4 separate regions of the Homo sapiens genome follow, and regions 1, 2 and 4 are each linked to region 3. Evidence: promoter capture Hi-C in 16 types of primary human blood cells and fetal thymus (Javierre and others, 2016). All regions are on one chromosome and are shown on one strand. Each heading gives the region's core, a stretch centred on a gene start or on the middle of the fragment in contact. The rest is flanking DNA. Distances are from core to core; before and after follow the strand shown.

Region 1 (3,042 bases), core at 86-2,585, 320 kb before region 3:
GAATAGCTGGAGGTAGCGGCTTGTCATCATATATATTTTTTTAATTTCCCAGATAATTTCAGTCTGTAGCAGGGATTGAGAAACAAAGACAGTGTCTCTGTTAGGGTTTGCCAAGAGGAGGTGCCAAAACAACCCTAATAGTACAAGGAGAGTACTTGCAGCCACCCTGGGACCTCCCGAGTGAAGGGAGCCCATCTCTTCTACTGAGAATCTTGGGACCTGGGTTTTGATTTGGCTAAGTGGGAGTACCCCCATCCCCACTGCATACTTCAGAATGGCAAATGCATTACATATGAAAGTAATATGCATAGTGATTCAATCATAATAAACAAGAATGGCCCTCATTCCTCAGGTGAGGTTTTCCTCAGCCCAGGCTCGAAGGAGGGAATTTTCCTTGCCCAGCTCTCCATTAAGGCCAGCCCATGCTGTGAACGGTCTACAGAAGCTTGGCTTTGTAAAATAACTTCTGGCAGTGAATAGCAGAGGCAGGATGCTCCTAAGTGGGTGATGTTCCAAAGATTTCTGGCCTTCTTCAATGGGGCAACCTGAGTTTTGTGTTTTCTACTGCAGAATGCTGAATGGTTTTGCAGGCTGTTTTGTTTTAAGAAATGGTGGGTAAGATATTTTTGGCTTTGGTTGGGGGAAGAGGGAGGAGGTTTGTGGACAGTTGCTAGCCTCAGATCTCTTAGCTAGTCCAGGGTAGAAACCATCATATTTTTATAAAATATGTTATAAATACCATATTTTACTGTACCTTTTAATGATATGTTTAGATTCACAAATACTTACCATTGTGTTACAACTGCCTGCAGTATTCAGTACAGTAACATGTTGTACAGGTTTACAAACCTAGGAGTGATAGGCTATAGTATACAGCCTAGGTGTGTAGTAGGCTATGCTGTGTAGGTTTGTGTAAGTACCGTACACTCTATGATGTTTGCACAGTGATGAAATTGCCTAACACCATATTTCTCAGAACATAGGCTTCTTGTTAAGCAACTCATGACTGTATTGTCCCAAGTCAATATTCAGCCTTCTATCTTAGCTGCTCAGTCTCAGAGAGTAAGACAGGCAACTTCTCAGCGTGCCACCCCTCAAGTCATGACTCTGTGACCAAATATATGTGTCCCAGACACTACGTCCTCACAATCAACCTCTCTCTCTCAATCTTCTTATCCTGTTCTCTGCCTTTCTCTCCTAGCAGAGTGGTTGAACCTGAGAAAAGAAAATATGACTTCAAAAGTGTTTAACTCCCTTCTCTTCACTGTCTTCAGTGTACCTGATCCTGTGCTAAGGATTTGAGTACATTTACAGTAAAACCAACTACTGTACATCATGCGCAGAGTCCTGCAAGGGTGCTCCTACTAGCCAGATATCATTTCACAGAGGGGCCTTGAGCTCACAGAGGTAAATAATTACCCAAGCTCACACACACCTGATTCCAAGGCCATGGAATTAGAAAAATGAGTCACAGGGCCAGGCGCAGTGGCTCACACCTGTAATCCCAGCACTTTGGGAGGCTGAGGCGGGCGGGTCACTTGAGGTCAGGAGTTTGAGACCAGCCTGCCAACATGGTGAAACCCTGTCTCTACTAAAAATATAAAAATTAGCCAGGTGGTGTAGCAGGCACCTGTAATCCCAGCTACTTGGGAGGCTGAGGCAGGAGAATTACTTGAACCAGGGAGGCGGAGGTTGCAGTGAACCGAGATTGCACCACTGCGCTCTAACTGGGGCAACAAAGCAGGACTCCATCTCAAAAAAAAAATGAGACAGACCCTGAGATCAGATCCCAACTACATCACTGACAAACTAAACTTGAGCAAGCCATGTATTTCTCCTGAGGCTCCCGTCTCATCAACAGAATGGAGTGTTACAAGAAGCAAAGTGAACAACAAATGTGAAAGCCCCTAGCAAATTCCTTGAGCACAGTGGGCACTTCATAAGTATGTGTCCATCTGTCTCTGTCTGTTCGTCTTCCCTTCCTCTCTCATTCTTTCTGGTTGGAACAGAGTAGGCTGTTATTAAGATGTTAGCCTGAGAGAGAACATGGTCCACAGTCCCATCTCCTTCAGAATTCTTCCAGTTCTGGGCACTCACTGCTTCATGGCTCCACTCCTTTCCTGGTTGGGTAAAAACGCCAGCTAATACAAAGATGAGTATTAGGAAAACCCATAGATATTACAGTATCTATAATATGGAAACAGTTCAGTGATGGAGAAGCTTCTTCCCTGGAAAATTAAAGGCATTAAGAATCTGGCTGGGGCTTCTGCGACCAGTTCTAGCGAGCTCTTTGGATCCTCTGCCTGTAAGATCCTCAGCATGCCAACATCTCCAGCACTCACAGCACTTGCTCCATCTCGCTGCGAAAAGGCTGAGCATGGGTCTGCATGATTACCAGCTGCTGGTCCAGCCACTGTGTAGCCTGGTCTTGGTACCAACATCATTTGTCTGAGTTTCTGGCCTTGCCCACCACTTCTGGAATTTTTGTTGGGTTATGTCTTACTTAATAATTTTTAGTGTTTTTTTTTAAACATGTATTTTCTGGATAAGAGTCCTTTGTTGGTTATATGTATTACCAAATAGCTTCTACTTCTATTCTGTGGTTTGTGTTATTAATCTCTTTATGAACTCTTTAGATAAGCAGAACTTCTTAATTTTAAAGTCATCGTTTTATCAATCTTTTTCCTAATGGTAGTAGGAGGCCTCAAGGGTGGTAAATATTTTCTTGGAGAGCATGGAGAGAGAGAAGGGGCAAGGAAGGAAGGATGCAGTCAGGAACCCTTTCCCTGAGAGCCTCTTTCTAGTGCCAAACACACACTAGCAGGTGACCCAGGCCGAGAGAGGCACCAAACTCCCTCACAGTGTGAAGCAAGACCACATTTCATGAAAGAATGAAACTCCATAGAAGAGAAACTAATCTGAACTTGCCACACCATGACTCCTTCTAATGGGGAGAAATTGTTCTGCATTCACCAGTCTGTAAACACTGGGGAATTCATCATAAATCAAAGGTGCACTGACTGAGCCACTGACAAGACAGCA
Region 2 (3,397 bases), core at 837-3,336, 300 kb after region 3:
CATTGCCCATGGGCTACCATTTCATTAAGATGTAATGCTATGAATATTTTCCACTCATCTAAAATAGAAGAAAAAGCTTTTATTGTTTAAACCTAAAAAAGAATCAACCGAAACAGAACATTTCCCTAGTCATCTTAAAGAAGAAATGTTTTTTTCAGTCGAGTTTTAGCCAGGCAGTTTCTAATCACCAAAAACTAAAGATATATATTTTTATGCTCAGACCCTACTGACTTCAAAAGAAAAAAAAAATGCTAAAATAGCTTATGTACTACCACAAGTCAACCAAAACATATGTAGCAAAATCGTTATACAGTTGTAATCTGTAAAACGTGTTATAATCCTCCAGCATAGAAAAGAGGATAATGTCAAACCTGACAATTCTGGTCAAATACCCAAAAATTCGTACAATTAAACTCAAAGGGCAAATCTTAGGCATAACAATGTGCATTTTTAAACTTCCCACCTCAACTAACAGTAAATGATCAAGCTTCCCCACAACATCACGGGATAAGATGTAATTTAAGAATGGCATCATCTCCCACATCAGGTCCAATGCCATCTTAGTAGCCAATATATCTACACCGAGCAACGTGGAGGAATCAGAATCATGTCTTGAGATGTCTGGCTGCGTGACAATCCCTCATGATGCTGCAGCTGCTGCTGGTTCTAGGTGCTTATTTTGACATTAAAGCCCAGCAGCCCACTGAAGGTTTTACGGAACCACTCACTTGAAGGGAGTAAAAATGGATGCCCAAATAACTCTTTCGGAGTTCTTCAATGTTAACCGCTGACCTCCTTAATTTCTGATCAGTTACATCACCAGTTCCACTAAAAGTAAAACCTGGAAAGGCAGCCACCTCCTCCAAATGGCTTGTTCACAGACTATCTAGTAGAGAAGACGACTATTAGATTTCAAGGCCGAGGGTGTGGTTATCTTCCCACAGAGGGAATGAGGGGTAGGGGCTGATGAGGACGGGCAGCAAAACATGGGATGGATTATTAGCCCTGGAAGATGAAGTGGGCATTAGTGGGGCAGGAGGTGGTACAAAAAGGGGAGAAGTGAGTACCTACATGAAGAGAGGGTAAGAGAGGGTGAGGGAGGGGAGGGCCCGTGAATTAACGAGTCCGCGCGCGTCGGAGAGAGGCTGGCTTGGGATGTACCTACCCGTCGAAGCGGACGGTGCCAGTCTGCTGAGTCTGCACCCGGTAATGTTCTAAGAGCAAGCGTACCACCTTTGCGTGTCCATTGCGGGCTGCGATGATGAGGGGCGTGGAGCGCTGCCCTCCCTGCTGGCTGACATAGCCAAGCAGATAGCGGATGTCGCTTTCAGACCGGTTGAGAAGCAAGGCGGCCAGAGTCAGCACCTTGCCCTCGCTGGCCGCCTTGTATACATAGCCAGCCAGGCCCTCCATGGCCGCCGCCAACTCCAACACCCGTTTGGTCGCCACCGCTGCAGCTGCCGTGCGCCCCCGGAGGCCGCGTTCGCCAGCGCTTTAAACCTGGGCCCTCACAGCCCATTCAACAGGGCGCCGTCGCCGCCGCCGCGCCCAGGCAGCAGTGCGGCCCAGGGAAGGCGGAGACGCAGAGGAGGCCGAGTGCCGCGAAGGGCACGTCCGCGACCCAGCCCGCGCAGGGAGGAAGGCGGTCAGGGCCGCCCGCCAGGTCCCAGGCGCCGGCCCTGGACCGAGGGGATCTCCATGGCGGACGCCGCCCCGGGCCTCAGGCCGGACCCCTCCTTCCTGCGGGATGCGACAGGCGCGTGCCCGAGCTACGGGTCGCCGGCCGGGTCCCGAGAGGACCTCGCGCACCCCGGATGGCGAAAGATGGGCGCGTCTCTCCTGACCCGGCCCACCCGGCCTAAGGCCTAACACTGCCTCCTCCTGCGCTTTCCGCCCTTCGCCGTCCCTGACTGGAGGAAACCTGCAGGCTCTCGTCCGCCGAGCTCAGAAGTGCCAGGCGCTGCCAACGGCCCCGGAGATCCTCGCGTAGGGGCCCCCGGGGCGATGCGGAACGCTCCCGCAAGAGCGGCGCCGGAACTTGGGCGGGGAGGAAGACGAGCTTTCGCAGACAGGGCCGGGAGGAGAGGGCGGGAGCGGGAGGGACGCTAAGTGGGGTGTCTCCGCCTAAGCCGACCGGCGGGCACACGCGGGCCCGGTAGAGAAAGGTTCTGCTGCGCGTAGTTGGCCCATCCCGTTTGGGCCTGGATGTCCTCAATGTCCTTGACTCCTGGAACCTCCTCCTGGCCCCTAAACGGCCCTGAGGGTCTCCAGCCAGGGAGTGGGGGCGGAGTGAGGGCGCTAAGCTGATGGGCTAAGGAGACCACCCTATTTTACTATAGACGGTGCGGGTCCTGCTTCTGCCCCTGAGCCGGGGTTAGGGAAGGGGTTGCGCGTACTCGGAGGGTCCATTTCAGGAAAAGGGCGGCGTTTCTGAGTTCCCGAAATGTGGGAGGGCTTGAGAGCCACAACACCAGGCTCTGAGAAGGGACTGGAAGTACGGCCTGACTTTCCCGGAGAAAGGGGTTAAGTGTGAGAGAAAGATGGGAGCGAAGGGGAGCTGCGCTCGCGGTGGAAGGAGCGAGGTATCCTGGGAAGGAAAGCGAGTCCCGCGTTCAGACAGAGCAGGAATCTCATCCTGAGCCGGCAGAACCTCCGTTTTCTCACAGACATCACAAGATTGTTGTTAGGATTTGAAACGATCGTTTATCCAATGAATATTAGAGGTCGACTACGTGCCAGGCTCTGCTTAGCACTAGGGATTCAGTAATGGAACAAATAAGTCAACAAATGATAGACAAGATCAGTTGAACTGGTATCATTACCATTTGCTCTGAAGCAAATGAAATAGAATGATGGGGGCACTCATTTAGTTTGGGTGATCAGACAAGACCTCTATGACAAGTGACAAGAACAGACGGTATTCTAGGCAAAGGGGACAGCTAATATAAAAGTCCTGAGGAGGGAACAGTCTGGTGAGCTCGGAAACAGAAAGGTCAGTGTGGCTGCAGCAGAGTGGGCCACAGTAAGAATGATAGATGAAGTCAGAGGATGCAACACACGTTAGGGCCTAATAACCCATAGCAAAGGGTTTAAGTCTACTCTGTGATGGGGGCATTTGAAGGGTTTTAAAGAGGGAAGTGACAAGATGCTATTTGTGTTTTTTAAAAAGATCACTCTGGCTGCTGTATGGAGAATAAACTCTGGAAGGCAAGAGTAGATAGGGGGACAGGCCTTGGATTAGGATGGTAGGAGTGAATGGTAGGTGATGAAGCTTCTGGGACAGTCTCAAAAAACTCAATATGAAAGTGACTTCCTCCCTCTTCCTCCCTTCCCCAAAGGACAAAATTTACCATAGAGAAAGAACAAATGCATTTATGTGGCTCCAAGGGACTGGGCT
Region 3 (3,141 bases), core at 534-3,033:
TCTCTCTAGCCGGGCCCATCCATTACTCCTCTGTCCCAGCCTGCTTGCATCTTTGACATTAATAACCTTAATATCCCTCCCAGCTGAATAGCATTTGCATCATTTCAAAACCCTAAGCATCTTACCCCAGGTGGGCCACAACAGCCCTGCCAGAAGTAGCCAGAGCTGAGGAAGCCCCTGCACCCTCAAGTTCATCTTCTCACAATGCTCCCAAGTCCCAGAACCAGGGCCAATGGCAAAGTTTGGAGTTGGGCCCAAGAATCCGCACAAACATTCAGTCTTGGGGCAGACCTCAGGAGGGCAAGGGTAGGCCCTGGCTTACCAGAAGGAGCCAAAACCACCCCACCTCCATCACTTGCACCCCAACCCTCCATCTGGCCCCACTGCTCTGACCCTCCATCTGACCCCACTCTGGGCTGCCGGTCCCACTTTGGCCTCCAGCTCCCCAATTCTGGGACCCAGCTGGGCAGCTGGAAAGGGTGGAGTCTGGCCCTTGAATGGACGGCCAAGCCCGAGGCCACCGCCAGACTGTGAGCTCAGTACCCAGACAGATCTCTCTGAAGAGTGTGGGTTCACACCCTTGATGTTATTGGTTCTTTAACAGCCTGTCACAACCCAGGACCCATATTATCACCCTCACAGCACACAAGAAGAAACTGAGGCCCAAAGTGGACCCCTCCCCGACCAAGGTCATCCAGGGGATCTGGGATAGAGCTGGGATTGAACTCAGGTCTCCCTGGTCCCTTGACCCTGGCACTTTCCACTGCCCCATCATCTTTCCTCTTAACTCTTTCCTCCCTACAACTAGGAAGCCCCTGAAGTCTCTCCAATAAACGTGGGCCCCTATGACAAGGCCCAACAATCATCCTCCAATATGGGGGCTGCCAAGATGCCCACCTTTGCTTCCCCTGTCACATTCCCTCCCCACATCTTCAAGCCAACCACCTGGACCTGCCCTGTCTCTGGTAGCGGCTCCCGGGACTGGGCAGCGCCTTCTGCACAGAGTGGCTTTGGAGTGGAGCCAGCGCTCCCGGCATGGGCGGCAGAGGCTGGCAGGTGGGGTGGGGTTTCCCCTCCGCTGGCCTCCTCGGGGCGGCAGGCCCATCCCCACACCCACTGCTCAGCACCAGCCCCTGCCAGCGACGCTTCCCGCCGCGCACTCCCTGGAGGGACACCGCTAGCCGCCCAGCCCAGCTCTCCAGGGGTTAAAAATGCAGCATCCCAAACAAGGGTTAAAAATGCAGTCCCGGGGTTGGGCCGGGCGCGGAGGGATGTTGGCCAAACCGCCGGGGCTGCCAGAGCGGCATCCTCCCCCTGGCCTCCGCAGTCCTTGGGGGCCGGAGTGACTCGAGCGGATCCGGCAGCAAGAGAGGCGCGCGCCGCACCTTCCCGGCACCGGCGCCCCCTCCCCACACCCACACCCCCGCGCCCCCCGCAGCCTAGCCCGGGGGATGCAGGCGCCGGCGGGTCCCGGGCGCGGCGGGCGAGCGGCGCTTACCTTTGTGACAGTCATGCAGAAACTCCGCGGCGGAGCGGGGGCGCGGGCGCGGCGTGCGGGGGCGGCGGCGGCGGCCCGGGGCGGCGGCGGAAGGGGGTCCGGCAGCTCCCGGCTCGCTCCCCGCGCCCCGCCGGCGGCTCGGCCGAGCCTGGGGGCTGCGCTCCGGGCGGGCAGCGCGCAGGGACCGCTCGTCGGCGCTCGCCCGCCGCTCGTCGCTGATGTCAGCCCCGAATGTGCATTTATAATAGATGAGCCTCCTTCGCCGCAGGAAGGCGAGGCAGGAAGAAAGGGAGAGAGGGAGAGGGCCCGGGCTGGGGGGCGGGGGGAGGAAGAGGGGCCGGGAACTCGCTACAAAGGAGGAGGCGGAGGGAGGAGGAGGAGGAAGCGCAGCCCGCCAGCGGCCGTGCCCCGAGCCTCCCGCTCGATCGCCGGCCGCCGGGCACCGCTGCTCCCGGAGTCCGGACGGGCGCCCGGGTCCGCGGCCTTAACCCCTTCGGGCCTGCGGACGCCACGCGGCTGGGCGAGGCTGGCTCCCGGCACCTGCCGGCTGGGAGAACGGGCGGCGCCCCGGGCTCTCGGGTGTCCCGCTGGCCCGGGGACGCTGGTGAAGTCACAGGCTGGACGGCCGAGGCGCTGCGCGGGCAAAGAAGGCGGTCGGGTTCGCCCCCTGGAGGCTCGCAAAGTCGGCCCGTGGGCCGTGAGTGTGGCGCGGCGGGCTGGGAGGGGCGTGGCAGCCGCAAGCCCGGGAGCCCTGCCCGCACCCCCACCTCGCGCTGGCCCGGGGCACAGGGTGGCCAGACGGATTTGTGTAAGCACTCTTTCGAATCTAATTCCCGCCGCGATGACTTGCCCGAAGGCCGCCTTAGTGAGTTTTGCAGAGGAGGAAACTGACGATCAGAGTGGGACGGACGTGGGAAGTGACTTAGACCACAGCACAGGACCTGCCTGCCCGAGCCGTTCCTCCCGCTCTTTCCACTCGGCCGCTAGCTCCCTAAGGAACCTCTTGTTATAGAAGCTGCCCTGCCCTAGGACTGTCTACACTACCACTGAGTGCCGCTCTACTGGTGGAGTGATAACACAGGTGCGTCCTGTGTGTTGATCCAATCCTGACTCGGGGCACAGTGTGTCCTGGAGCTGCTGCGGAGATTTGAGGGACAGTCACCTGAAGGTGACCTCGCAAGTCTTGAGAAAGGAGTCTCCCTCCCAAGCACCTGAGCAGAACCGGTTTCCGCAGATACAGAACCGCGGAGAGGGTGGAGGGGAGGAGTTAGCAGAGGTGGAAGCAGAGGGGTTCTCCAAGCAGGACAGCCTGGCAAGCCCGGAAGTGCTGGCTTCCTGCTCCACGGTAATTACCGGTGCAATTCACCTGGACAGCGAAGGCAACGTCATATATGAGCACCTGCTCTGTGGAAAGTGCTGGGGGAACAGAGAGGAGATGGGATGCCTGCCTTCCGGGAGACCAGTGTCTAGATTGGAGCAATAATAATAGAGTAACCAGCCTCCAGGAAGTGCTTTGTGGGTCATTGTGCAATTTTTTTTTTTTTTTTTTTTTTGAGACCGGAGTAGTCTCACTCTGTCGCCCAGGCTGGAGTGCAGTGGCGCGATCTCGGCTCACTGCAACCTCCGCCTCCTGGATTCAAGCG
Region 4 (3,317 bases), core at 45-2,544, 300 kb before region 3:
GAACCTGGGAGGTGGAAGTTGCAGTGAGCTGAGATCCACCACTGCACTCCAACCTGGCTGACAGAGTGAGAGACTCCATCTCAAAAAAAAAAAAAAGAAAAAGAAAAAAACAAAAATAACTAATAGGCAAAAAAATACATTTAACCTCAATTGTTTGCAAATTCATGCAATACAAATATCATTTTGCCAAATTCAAATAGTGCACATTACTTAAAATTGATTTTAATAAGCAATTCTGCAGTAAGATGAATTTCTGCTCACTATGGTGAGTACATACATTTTTAACTTTCTGGAACCAGTTCAGTCATGTATACCAGTAATCTGAAAAGTGGTGATATCTTTTGACATACGGGTACCATGAGGCTGACTGTATTTCTGTGATGCTGTTCACCATGATGTTTGATTCTCCTGGTTGATTAGATTTACTGTTTTTCTCTTTTAGGGAAGGATACTGCAAGTGCAGTGCCATGTGCTTCATTCGGCCTCACATCAGGTGGCACAACGTACCTGACAGTGGCAGCCTTAGCAGTGCTGAGCTGAGTAACACAGAGTAAACCACTCAGCCTTTAAATCTATGATATAAGCCTTTATATCATTTTTAATATGTGAAATAATCAAAGTCAGATTTTACAATTACCTTAGAAAGAAACTGCAAACATAAGTTCTATTTGTAAAATATTGGAGGGAGGGTATTTTCTAATATATGTTGTAAAAAAATGTTTAAATGGTGAGCATGTAGTTGGTTATATAAGCTTTTTGAATACTTCAACTTACAAAGTGATTGATTCAAACTTGGTACAATTAGAACGGCATCCAGAGAAGCCTTCTTTAATTTTCTATACCACATAGAAAAATGCATCGTCAAAATGGGTGAAGCTGGGCTGCCTCTGAAAACAGAACTATAATGCATTTGTTTTTTTGTTTTTTTTGTTTGTTTGTTTGTTTTTGTTTTTGAGGCTGAGTCTCCCTCTGTAGCCCAGGCTGGAGTGCAGTGGCACGATCTCGGCTCACTGCAACCTCAGCCTCCTGGGTCCTGGTTCAAGCAATTCTCCTGCCTCGGCCTCCCGAGTAGCTGGGATCACAGGCATGTGCCACCATGCTCAGCTAATTTTTTTTTTTGTATTTTTGGTAGAGACGGGGTTTCACCATGTTGGCCAGGCTGGTCTTGAACTCCTGACCTCGTGATCCACCCGCCTCGGCCTCCCAACGTGCTGGGATTATAGGCGTGAGCCACAGCACCCCACCAATGCATCTGATTTTGATTGGATTATCAGTTCAGAAATTTCCCAATACCAAATTCTACCACTCTGTCTAAGGAAGGACTCTCTCCATATTTTAGCTCCTAGATCACCCTCCCTAATCTTTATACTACGTAAAATAAGCTGTCTGCCTCTGCTCAAAAGGGCTGAATGGGATACATGGATACATGAATTGATAGGGTTTTAATGGATTCTTTTGGAAAGGGGACGGTCCCACACCATGCTATGGCCTTCGATGTTATTTTTTAACAACTTCTAAATAACAACATGTTGTTTTTTAAATGTGCCTGAAGATGTATATTTACCATCCAAGAGAGTACAAATTTGAGACTCCAACTTCAGCGCTACTCCACTACATGGCTTCTGTACACCTTAGTGAATTGTGGCACTTGTGAGGGTCAACAAAACTCACCCTGTGGCTGGCTGGCACATGATGGATGGACGTCGAAGAGGGTCAAATCGTTTTATGGTACACGATGGCTAAAACATGGATAGGAATGTCAGGTTGTCTGATACTAAACTATTTTGAAATTCTGAGGTTGCAACCTCAGTCTTTAGAGTCTACACCCAAAGCTTTCTATGGCCCTGTTCTTCCCCCAAAGACACCAGATGTTGGAGAAGTAGGGTCCCATGAGCCTTTTCATTAACGTTTCATGAGGGAGACTTATCCTTCTGTATGGATGTCATCAAAACACCCTGAGAATATACTTACAGTTGAACCATTTTTTCTCACTTGAATAAAATTAACCTGAGTACAGTAGTCCCCCCTTATCCACAGGGGGTGTGTTCCAAGACCCCCAGTACATGCCTGAAACCATGGATAGTACCAAACCCCATATATTCTATGTTTTTGCTATTCACACATACCTATGATAAAGTTTAACTTATAACTTAGGCACAGTAAGAGATTAACAACAGTAACTAATAGTAAAATGAAACAATTATAACAATATTCTGTAATAAAAGGCATATAAATGTGATCTCTCTCCCAAAATATCTTTTTTTAATTTTTATTTATTTATTTATTTATTTTGAGACGGAGCCTCACTCTGTCACCCAGGCTGGAGTACAGTGGTATGATCTTGGCTCACTGCAACTTGTGCCTCCTGGGTTCAAGCAATTCTCCCTGCCTCAGCCTCCCAAGTAGCTTGGATTACAGGCAACTGCCACCATGCCCGGCTTATTTTTGTATTTTTAGGAGAGACAGGGTTTCTCCATGTCGACCAGGCTGGTCTTGAGTCCTGACCTCAGGTGCTCCACCCGCCTCGGCCTCCCAAAGTGCTGGGATTACAGGCATGAGCCACCATGCGCAGTCCTTTTTTAAATTTTTTAATTTATTTTTAATTTTTTGGGTACACAGTAGGAGTATATATTTACGGGGTGCGTGAGATATTTTAATACATGCAATGTATAATAATCGCATCAGGTTAAATGCAATTATTTACCTTCATCTCAAACATTTATCTTTTGTGTTGCAAACCAATTACACTCTTTTAGTTATTTTAAAATGTACAATTATTTTTTACTATAGTCACTCTGTTATACTAGCAAATACTAGATCTTATTCGTTCCAATTATTTTTTGTACCCCTAAAATATCTTATTTTACTATACCGTGAGTAACTAAAACCTCGGAAAGTGAAAGCATGGAATACTGCGTATTTCCCACCCTCAGCGTGTGTGTGTCTTAACAAAGTCAGCCAGGGCACCTGCCCCCCTCCTTCTCATCAGGCCTTCTTAGCAAAATAGCATCCTTGTGGAGGGCCAGGGCTGTGTCCTGTGGGTTAGTGATATGATCAAGATTCCTAAGTACAAAACTGAAGCGCAGGACCTTAGAGCTGGTATAAGTCTGAGGCAAGATGTTGAAAGTATTCTGCAGCCCCTGCCATGTGAAAGCAAACTGTTTCTGGTGTTACTGCTTATTGGGATGGAGAAAAAAGCATTCGCCAAACTGATAATGACATAACACGGGCTATGAAGGAGACAATGTCTGTAAAAGCAGATGCAATTAAAGTCATTGTCATTTCATTCTCTGAGTTATTCTATATACTGCATCAGC

Evidence for each region. The method cuts DNA at HindIII sites, captures the fragments that hold promoters and counts their contacts. A CHiCAGO score of 5 or more calls a contact.
Region 1: a fragment that was not itself captured here is called in contact with the fragment with the promoter of CORO2B in region 3 in 3 of 17 cell types (neutrophils, M0 macrophages and naive B cells); the score reaches 5.4 in neutrophils.
Region 2: the fragment with the promoter of FEM1B here is called in contact with the fragment with the promoter of CORO2B in region 3 in 1 of 17 cell types (endothelial precursors); the score reaches 5.6 in endothelial precursors.
Region 4: a contact is called between a fragment that was not itself captured here and the fragment with the promoter of CORO2B in region 3, in 1 of 17 cell types (total B cells). The highest score is 5.0, in total B cells.

The regions. Positions count from the first base shown.
Region 1 is chr15:68,898,142-68,901,183 of GRCh38, reverse strand. No RefSeq gene overlaps it. Among named protein-coding and RNA genes, the nearest start is that of SPESP1, 31 kb to the left of the region's middle. The HindIII fragment of the contact is 1,775 bases long and covers 448-2,222 here.
Region 2 is chr15:68,276,434-68,279,830 of GRCh38, reverse strand. FEM1B (fem-1 homolog B) reads right to left here and starts at 2,086. Exons shown (of 2, transcript NM_015322.5): 1 at 1,166-2,086. The coding sequence starts at 1,413. RefSeq lists enhancers at 1,247-1,446, 1,189-2,090 and a silencer at 1,477-1,806. The HindIII fragment of the contact is 2,784 bases long and covers 490-3,273 here.
Region 3 is chr15:68,577,635-68,580,775 of GRCh38, reverse strand. CORO2B (coronin 2B) reads right to left here and starts at 1,783. Exons shown (of 12, transcript NM_006091.5): 1 at 1,499-1,783. The coding sequence starts at 1,513. RefSeq lists an enhancer at 728-1,595. The HindIII fragment of the contact is 45,013 bases long and covers 1-3,141 here.
Region 4 is chr15:68,880,412-68,883,728 of GRCh38, reverse strand. No RefSeq gene overlaps it. Among named protein-coding and RNA genes, the nearest start is that of SPESP1, 48 kb to the left of the region's middle. The HindIII fragment of the contact is 1,080 bases long and covers 755-1,834 here.